Linked DNA regions of Homo sapiens: all the other regions are linked to region 1. Evidence: promoter capture Hi-C in human tissues and cell types (Jung and others, 2019). All regions are on one chromosome and are shown on one strand. The core of a region is centred on a gene start or on the middle of the fragment in contact, and the rest is flanking DNA. Distances in the headings are between cores, read along the strand shown. Region 1 holds the start of ALOX15B (arachidonate 15-lipoxygenase type B). Region 2 overlaps DNAH2 (dynein axonemal heavy chain 2). Region 3 overlaps TP53 (tumor protein p53).

Region 1 (3,060 bases), core at 499-2,998:
CCTGGAGGGTGAGTTTCCTGGGGCTTGAAGGGCGTGTTTCTGGCTCTACTCAGATTTCTGGGAGGACACAACAAGCCGATGCATGAAAAAGTCCCAGGGCAAGGAAGACACCAGCAAAGGTAAGGCATTTAAAGCAGTTTCTTTCTCTTTCTTTTCTTTCTTTCTTTCTTTCTTTCTTTCTTTCTTTCTTTCTTTCTTTCTTTCTCTCTCTTTCTTTCTCTCTTTCCTTCCTTTTCCTTCCTTCCTTTTTTTTTTTCTTTTTTTGAGATGGAGTTTTGCTCTGTCCCCCATGCTGGAGTGCAATGGCGTGATCGGCTCACTGCAACCTCCACCACCCGGGTTCAAGCTATTCTTCTGCCTCAGCCTCCCATGTAGCTGAGAATACAGGTGCCCGCCACCCTACCCAGCTGATTTTTGTATTTTTAGTAGAGATGGGGTTTCGCCCTGTTGGCCAGGCTGGTCTCGAACTCCCGACCTCCAGTGATCCGCCTCCCTCAGCCTCCCAAAGTGCTGAGATTACAGGTGTGAGCCACCACGGCACCTGGCCCTAGAGCAGTGTTTTTCAAACATCAGTGGCCACCAGAGTCATCTGGAAGGCTTGTCAAAACAAAAATTCCCACTCTACACCCTCAGTGTCGTAGTAGGTTGGAGGTGGCCTGAGAATTTGCATTTCTAATACGTTCCTGTAGACGCTGCTGATCCCAGGAGCAGCTTTGATAGGAGAGGTGGAGGCAGGGGCTTTTAATCTCTGTCATGACCAGGACACTCAAGCTGCCCCTCATCGTTTGGGCACACCCTCCCCCATCAGTAACCCCCTCCTCACTGGTACATCTCCTGCCGGGCCTGAAGCTCCTCCTGGCGCTGTTGCTGGAGCACAGGGTGGTGGTCTGCCCAGGACACCTTGGCTGTGGGAGAAGGGGAGTAGGTTGGGGTGGGGAGAGAAACTCACCATCACTACCACCAGCCACACAGTCTCCACGATTGCCACCCTCTACCAGGTCCCCTCCTCCCATAAGTACAGTTTCTCCTACACCAGGCTGCTACCTCCCGCTCCCCAAGGCTCCGCCATTCCCTCTCCTCTGCCCGCTACTCTGTGGCCACACCAGCTCACCTCTCCATTTCACCTGCCCTTCTCCCCAACCCCCAGTCCCCTACCCCTTCCTGTGCTCCCCCTGCAGCCCCAGCCCGGCCCGCCCCTCACCTGTACCCTCCTGCAGCACCAGGGTCCCCGCCCCCTCCAGCCACTGGTAGCAGGGGAAGAGGAGGTGGCCGCCCCGCGGCGGTGTCAGCTGGAACCAGCGGCAGAACCAGGCATCCGGGGCCAGGGGCCCCAGCAGGGGCAGCACTGGGGGCGCCTTGTGCACGCGCAGCAGCAGCACTCGGCCTACGTCCTCCGGGAGCGTCACCTGGAAGTCCTCCTCCTGAGGGGAGGTTAAGTATGCGTCAGGCCGGACCCTCCTGCTCGCCCCCTTCACCTCCACCCCATCCACTCCCACGCACTCACAGCGCCCGCAGTGAACTCCTTGCCGAGATTGTCCAGGGGCAGTGGGGGGCTCTCTCCCCGGGTCCCCACGATGCTGACAGACACTTTGTCCCATGTGCCAGCCCCGAAGGCTTCTCCGGTGGACACCCTGACCCTGAACTCGGCCATGCTGCCAGCCTAAGTCCAGCTCTCTACGGCGCACAGGGCTGCAGAGCGGGGCTCCCCCCTGGGACACGCCTGGTTATTGCCCCTGGTTATTGCCACTGACTCCAAGCCCAGTGGACTCCTCTAAAAAGCACGTCCGTTTCAGGGCGGGGAGGGGCGGGGCGGAGAGGCTGGAACACGCAACTAAAGTGGGGGTGGGCGGGGGATTGGCAGCGCTGGGAACAGGAGGGACTAAGAATACCCTGAGGTTTGGGGAACGGGGCCTTTCAGTGGTGGTGCCAGGCCAGAGAGCCTAGAGTTGGGACCCAGTTGGGGTGGGGGTAGATTTGTGCCCACCACGTCTGTTTGTTTTCCTTCTTAGCCTTAGAAGTCTATGCAAAAATATCACCCCATTTCCCACAACTCTTCTTGGGCCTGCGTTCATTATTTTTAAAATTTATTTATTTATTTATTTTTGAGACAGAGGCTTGCTCTGTCGCCAGGCTGGAGTGCAGCAGCATGATCTCGGCTCACTGGAACCTCCTCCTCCTGGGTTCAAGTGATTCTCCTACCTCAGCCTCCCCAGTAGCTGAGACAACAGGCGAGTGCCACCATGCCCAGCTAATTTTTGTATTTTAGTAGAGACGGGGTTCCACCATGTAGGCCAGGATGATCTTGATCTCTTGACCTCATGATCCGCCTGCCTCGGCCTCCCAAAGTGCTGGGATTACAGGCGTGAGCCACCGCGCCCAGCCTACATTCATTATTTTATTTCATTCAATAATTAATGTTCAGAACTACCTCTGTGCCAGGTGCTATGCTCACTGCTATTGATAAAGGCCCAGGCAAGACCTAGTGCTTGCTCTCATGGAGATTAAAAATCAAGTGTGAGGCCAGGCACAGTTGCTGGCCAACATGGTGAAACCCCATCTCTACTAAAAATACAAAAAAATTAGCCAAGCGTGGTGGCGGGCGCCTGTAGTCCCAGCTACTCAGGAGGCTGAGGCAGGAGAATAGCTTGAACCCGGAAGGCGGAGGTTTCAGTGAGGTGAAGTTGTGCCATTGCACTCCAGCATGGGCGACAGAGCAAATCTCGGTCTAAAAAAAAAAAATCAAGTGTGAGAGAAAATAAGTAAACCAACACATAATTTCAGATGATAATAAGTGCAATGAAGGAAATGAAACAGACTAATGTGAAGGAGTGAGAAGCAGAGGTGGGAAGGGAGGCGTTCAGAGCCTCAGAGGAGGTGAAAGGATCTGTCTGGGGAACAGAGTTTTGTGCAGAGGAAACTGTTCCTGAAGAGGCCCTGTGGTTAGGAAAAGCTTGGCTTGTTGGAGGAGGGAAAGGCAAGAGTGCAGTGAGGGAGGGATTTGGGGGAGAGATGCCAAGGGGAAGTTATGGATTTGGGCTTTGGGGGAATAACATAACAGAT
Region 2 (2,903 bases), core at 117-2,616, 260 kb after region 1:
TGTAGCCTCCCCCTTGCACCAAATCTTTTGTTTCCCATCGTCCTTTTCACGATGTGTTCCTGTGTTTAAGTAGAGCACGTTTTTCTAGTAGCTTTTGGAGAAAGTAGTTGTGACTACAGGAGCACACCTCCATGTGTGGCTATTTTTTTTTTTAAGAGATGGAGGTCTTGCTATGTTACCCAGGCTGGTCTTGAACTCCTAGCCTAAAGTGATCCTGTTGCCTCAGCCTCCAAAGTGTTGAGATGACAGGCGTGAACCACCGCACCTCGCCCCTATCAGTTTCAATATCTGAAGTAAGTTTTCATGGATCTGATTCCACTGTCTGTTGTTCTTCTGGCTCCCATTCATGGTTTCTTGTTTCCTTGTGTGTTTTGTGATTTTTGACCATGAGTTGCTCATTTTCTTGGACTTTTACCTGTGGCACTTCTTTGAAGTGTGAGTTGAAATTTCATTCCTCCAGAAATAATTTGCTTTTGCTTCTTCCAGTCACCTGGGGGCACTAACAACCTAGAACTACTTAATATTGAAATCTAAGCTTGAGATTTCTTTTCTGATTACACAGTAGGATAAATGATGACTGGAAACCATGTGAGAGCTGGTGTGTGGTTAGGAAATCTCAAAGAAAATTTGGTCTTTTTCTTCCATCATCAGAGGTCAAAACAAGCAAGTTTCTTTCCTGTATATACGCTTCTAAATCTCAGACTTCTCGTTTTTCCATCTACTGGGGATGTTGCCCCTTGGGGACTGGGGTTTATGCAGCACTGCATCTTCTGTTATATCTTCAGACTTGGGTTGTTTCATCTCCTATCCTCACTGCCTTAAGATCAACAACAGTTTTCAGGGAGAAGGCCAGCTTTGGTACTTACCTGCCTCCCAGGGTTCCTGCTTTTACTCCCTACCCTCCTCAACTCCTGGAATTCTTCCTTTCTTGCCAGCTTAGCAATGCATTAAAAAGGATGTTATTATTATATTTTTATCCATCATTTTAGTAGTTTCAATTGAAAGGATCATTCAGGGTATCTAGACTACCACACTGCCAGAGAAGAAAGTTCTTATGCTTTCTAAAACTCCCTCTTCCATTCTGCTGCTCTCTGATACCAAATGGCTTCTAGCAGCCCCTCCTCAAAACTCCCTGATGAGGTGAGAAGTAGAGGCATGGAGGACTGATGGGCACGGAGAAAGTGCAAAGGCAACGGACTAGAGGTTTCAATGAAGTCAGAGCGTTGCTGCATGGATGCACTTGAGCAGGTACACTTGAGTAGGTCAGCGGAGGAGGGAGTTGTGGTCAGAGAGCAGAATGTTTGAATAGTCTATTGCTTTATAGATAAGGAAGTCCAAAGAGAGGTCAATTGACTTGTTCAGAGTCATAGCTAGTAGATGGCAGAACAAGGACTGGAAGCCAAGTTTTCTATTCCCAGATGCATATTCACATATGTGGTCAGGGAGAGTGCGGTTTTTTTGTTTTTGTTTTGTTTTTTGAGACACGGTCTTGCTCTGTCACCCAGGCTGGAGTGCAGAGGCACAATCTCAGCTCATTATAGCCTCAATCTCCTGGGGCTCAAGCAATCCTCCTACCTCAGCCTCCCGAGTAGCTGGGACTACACTCGTGTGCACCACCATGCCTGGCTAATTTTTGTACTTTTTGTAGATACAGGGTTTCACCATGTTGCCCAGGCTAGTCTCAAACTCCTGGACTCAAACAGTCTGCCCACCTCGGCCTCCCAAAGTGCTGGGATTACAACCATGAGCCACAGCACCCGGTCAGGGAGAGTATTAAGGAACAAATACCTTGCCATAGTCAATGACAGGCAGCTCAATGTTGGGAAACAGATCTTGCACGATGGCATTGAACAGGGGTGCATCAACTGAAGTGAGCTTGGCGATGTTCATATCTCTCATTGAGAGCAGCAGAACCTGAATGGGAAAAGACAGAGACTCAGGCTTGAGGAGGCAGGGCCTAGGCCTTTCACCTCCAAAGGGCTTCGGGGCACGTGCCAAGAACAATGGATACACCAGTTAGCCATTAGCAAAGCAGCGGGCAACACGGGGATGGGACGAGGTGGGAAGGTGAGAATCCCAATCTGAGGAAAGAAAGGGTCTGAAAGACTTGAGAGAAGTGACATAGGTCCAGTGACAGTGGAAGTCAGGTCCAAAGGCTGTGTCCTTGCTCTACCTCTTCATCAGTCAGATCCGGCTGTAGGCGGCGCTTCTTGCCAGCATAGCGCAGAAGGGAGGTGAGGGCACGCAGGCCAAAGTCATAGTGGTCCTGTCTGGACAGCTGCTGCACAGCCAGTGAGTAGAGTGTGTACACCTTCTTGGCCAGAATCTGGGGAACCAAAACAGAGGAGGAAACAGTCCATCTCCCCACAAATCCCTCTGCTTCATCTCAGGACAGTCAGAGACAAGAAGCCAGGTCCCAGGACATGAAGCAGCTAGGAGGCACTCTATGGATTCTCCTGAGGAAATTGTGTGAATGACGCCATTGTCAGTTAGTGATATCACGGAGGAGACACCTCCCTCCCCTAAATTTTTCTCCCCACACATCCTACTGACAATAGTCTAAGTTCCTTAGAGGATAAGCTGATTGTGAGGCCCTTGGGGAGCTCCTCTGTCCAGGGAATAATTATGAAAGGAAATTAAAATCACTGGAGAAAAGGGGTTATTGGAGTACCTTGCAGTTGCCAAAGCCCTCTCCAAAGAGAATGATTTCTGCAATGAGGGTGGAGTCAGGCACCACCATGGCAATTGGGCGGAACATGGATTTAAGATTTTCGGGAAGCTCTGTGCGGCCAGCATAGCCTGGAAAACAATGCCACTTGCTTAGAATCATATATTTCCTCATCTTGATTTGCTTCCCCAAACCCACTTTCCAATCAGTCTCATTTTCTCCCACCCTAACTCCA
Region 3 (2,843 bases), core at 1-2,500, 370 kb after region 1:
TCGACATAGTGTGGTGGTGCCCTATGAGCCGCCTGAGGTCTGGTTTGCAACTGGGGTCTCTGGGAGGAGGGGTTAAGGGTGGTTGTCAGTGGCCCTCCAGGTGAGCAGTAGGGGGGCTTTCTCCTGCTGCTTATTTGACCTCCCTATAACCCCATGAGATGTGCAAAGTAAATGGGTTTAACTATTGCACAGTTGAAAAAACTGAAGCTTACAGAGGCTAAGGGCCTCCCCTGCTTGGCTGGGCGCAGTGGCTCATGCCTGTAATCCCAGCACTTTGGGAGGCCAAGGCAGGCGGATCACGAGGTTGGGAGATCGAGACCATCCTGGCTAACGGTGAAACCCCGTCTCTACTGAAAAATACAAAAAAAAATTAGCCGGGCGTGGTGCTGGGCACCTGTAGTCCCAGCTACTCGGGAGGCTGAGGAAGGAGAATGGCGTGAACCTGGGCGGTGGAGCTTGCAGTGAGCTGAGATCACGCCACTGCACTCCAGCCTGGGCGACAGAGCGAGATTCCATCTCAAAAAAAAAAAAAAAAGGCCTCCCCTGCTTGCCACAGGTCTCCCCAAGGCGCACTGGCCTCATCTTGGGCCTGTGTTATCTCCTAGGTTGGCTCTGACTGTACCACCATCCACTACAACTACATGTGTAACAGTTCCTGCATGGGCGGCATGAACCGGAGGCCCATCCTCACCATCATCACACTGGAAGACTCCAGGTCAGGAGCCACTTGCCACCCTGCACACTGGCCTGCTGTGCCCCAGCCTCTGCTTGCCTCTGACCCCTGGGCCCACCTCTTACCGATTTCTTCCATACTACTACCCATCCACCTCTCATCACATCCCCGGCGGGGAATCTCCTTACTGCTCCCACTCAGTTTTCTTTTCTCTGGCTTTGGGACCTCTTAACCTGTGGCTTCTCCTCCACCTACCTGGAGCTGGAGCTTAGGCTCCAGAAAGGACAAGGGTGGTTGGGAGTAGATGGAGCCTGGTTTTTTAAATGGGACAGGTAGGACCTGATTTCCTTACTGCCTCTTGCTTCTCTTTTCCTATCCTGAGTAGTGGTAATCTACTGGGACGGAACAGCTTTGAGGTGCGTGTTTGTGCCTGTCCTGGGAGAGACCGGCGCACAGAGGAAGAGAATCTCCGCAAGAAAGGGGAGCCTCACCACGAGCTGCCCCCAGGGAGCACTAAGCGAGGTAAGCAAGCAGGACAAGAAGCGGTGGAGGAGACCAAGGGTGCAGTTATGCCTCAGATTCACTTTTATCACCTTTCCTTGCCTCTTTCCTAGCACTGCCCAACAACACCAGCTCCTCTCCCCAGCCAAAGAAGAAACCACTGGATGGAGAATATTTCACCCTTCAGGTACTAAGTCTTGGGACCTCTTATCAAGTGGAAAGTTTCCAGTCTAACACTCAAAATGCCGTTTTCTTCTTGACTGTTTTACCTGCAATTGGGGCATTTGCCATCAGGGGGCAGTGATGCCTCAAAGACAATGGCTCCTGGTTGTAGCTAACTAACTTCAGAACACCAACTTATACCATAATATATATTTTAAAGGACCAGACCAGCTTTCAAAAAGAAAATTGTTAAAGAGAGCATGAAAATGGTTCTATGACTTTGCCTGATACAGATGCTACTTGACTTACGATGGTGTTACTTCCTGATAAACTCGTCGTAAGTTGAAAATATTGTAAGTTGAAAATGGATTTAATACACCTAATCTAAGGAACATCATAGCTTAGCCTAGCCTGCTTTTTTTTTTTTTTTTTTTGGAGACAGAGTCTCACTCTGTCACCCAGGCTGGAGTGCAGTGGCGGGATCTCGGCTCACTGCAACCTCCGCCTTCTGGGTTCAAGCGATTCTCCTGCCTCAGCCCACTGAGTAGCTGGGATTACAGGCACCTGCCCCGACGCCCAGCTAATTTTTTGTTATTTATTTATTTTTTTTTTTAGTAGAGATGAGGTTTCACCATGTTGGCCAGGCTAGTCTCGAACTCCTGACCTTGTGATCTGCCTGCCTTGGCCTCCCAAAGTGCTGGGATTACAGGCGTGAGCCACCGCACCCGGCCTGCCTAGCCTACTTTTATTTTATTTTTAATGGAGACAGCATCTTGCTCTGTTGCCCAGGCTGGATTACAGTGATGTGATCATAGCTCATTATACCCTCCTGGGCTCAAGCAATCCCCCTAACTCTGCCTCCCCAGTAGCTAGGACCACAGGCATACACCACCATACCCAGCTAATTTTTAAAATTTTTTGTAGATAGATAGAGTCTCACTATGTTGCCCAGGCTGGTCTCTAGCCTACTTTTTTGAGACAAGGTCTTGCTCTGTCACCCAGGCTGGATAGAGTGCAGTAGTGCAGTCACAGCTCACTGCAGCCTCCACCTCCCAGGCTCCATCCATCCTCCCAGCTCAGCCTCCCAAGTTGCTTCAACTACAGGCCTGCACCACCATGCCTGGCTAATTTTTATTTATTTATTTTTATTTTATTTTATTTTATTTTTTTGAGACTCAGTCTCACTCTGTCGCCCAGGCTGGAGTGCAGTGGCATGATCTCGGCTCACTGCAACCTCTGCCTCCTGGGTTCAAGTGATTCTCCTGCCTCAGCCTCCCGAATAGCTAGGACTACAAGCGCCTGCTACCACGCCCAGCTAATTTTTGTATTTTTAGTAGAGACAGGGTTTCACCATGTTGGCCAGGCTGGTCTCGAACTTCTGACCATGTGATCCGCCCGCCTCGGCCTCCCAAAGTGCTGGGATTACAGGTGTGAGCCACCACGCCCGGCTAATTTTTATTTATTTATTTAAAGACAGAGTCTCACTCTGTCACTCAGGCTAGAGTGC

What was found. The method cuts DNA at HindIII sites, captures the fragments that hold promoters and counts their contacts. A contact is called where the count stands out against the background at its distance.
Region 2: a contact is called between a fragment that was not itself captured here and the fragment with the promoter of ALOX15B in region 1, in 2 of the 25 tissues and cell types used here (lymphoblastoid cells and spleen).
Region 3: a contact is called between a fragment that was not itself captured here and the fragment with the promoter of ALOX15B in region 1, in 1 of the 25 tissues and cell types used here (aorta).

Annotation. Positions count from the first base shown.
Region 1 is chr17:8,037,747-8,040,806 of GRCh38, reverse strand. It overlaps ALOX15B (arachidonate 15-lipoxygenase type B), which reads right to left and starts at 1,748. Exons shown (of 14, transcript NM_001141.3): 1 at 1,505-1,748; 2 at 1,202-1,421; 3 at 824-905. The coding sequence starts at 1,651. The HindIII fragment of the contact is 17,440 bases long and covers 1-3,060 here.
Region 2 is chr17:7,780,053-7,782,955 of GRCh38, reverse strand. DNAH2 (dynein axonemal heavy chain 2) reads right to left here. Exons shown (of 86, transcript NM_020877.5): 37 at 2,672-2,799; 38 at 2,174-2,326; 39 at 1,789-1,914. Among named protein-coding and RNA genes, the nearest start is that of KDM6B, 53 kb to the left of the region's middle. The HindIII fragment of the contact is 3,196 bases long and covers 1-2,903 here.
Region 3 is chr17:7,672,053-7,674,895 of GRCh38, reverse strand. It overlaps TP53 (tumor protein p53), which reads left to right. Exons shown (of 11, transcript NM_000546.6): 6 at 1-37; 7 at 606-715; 8 at 1,059-1,195; 9 at 1,288-1,361. Among named protein-coding and RNA genes, the nearest start is that of TP53, 14 kb to the left of the region's middle. The HindIII fragment of the contact is 4,764 bases long and covers 1-2,843 here.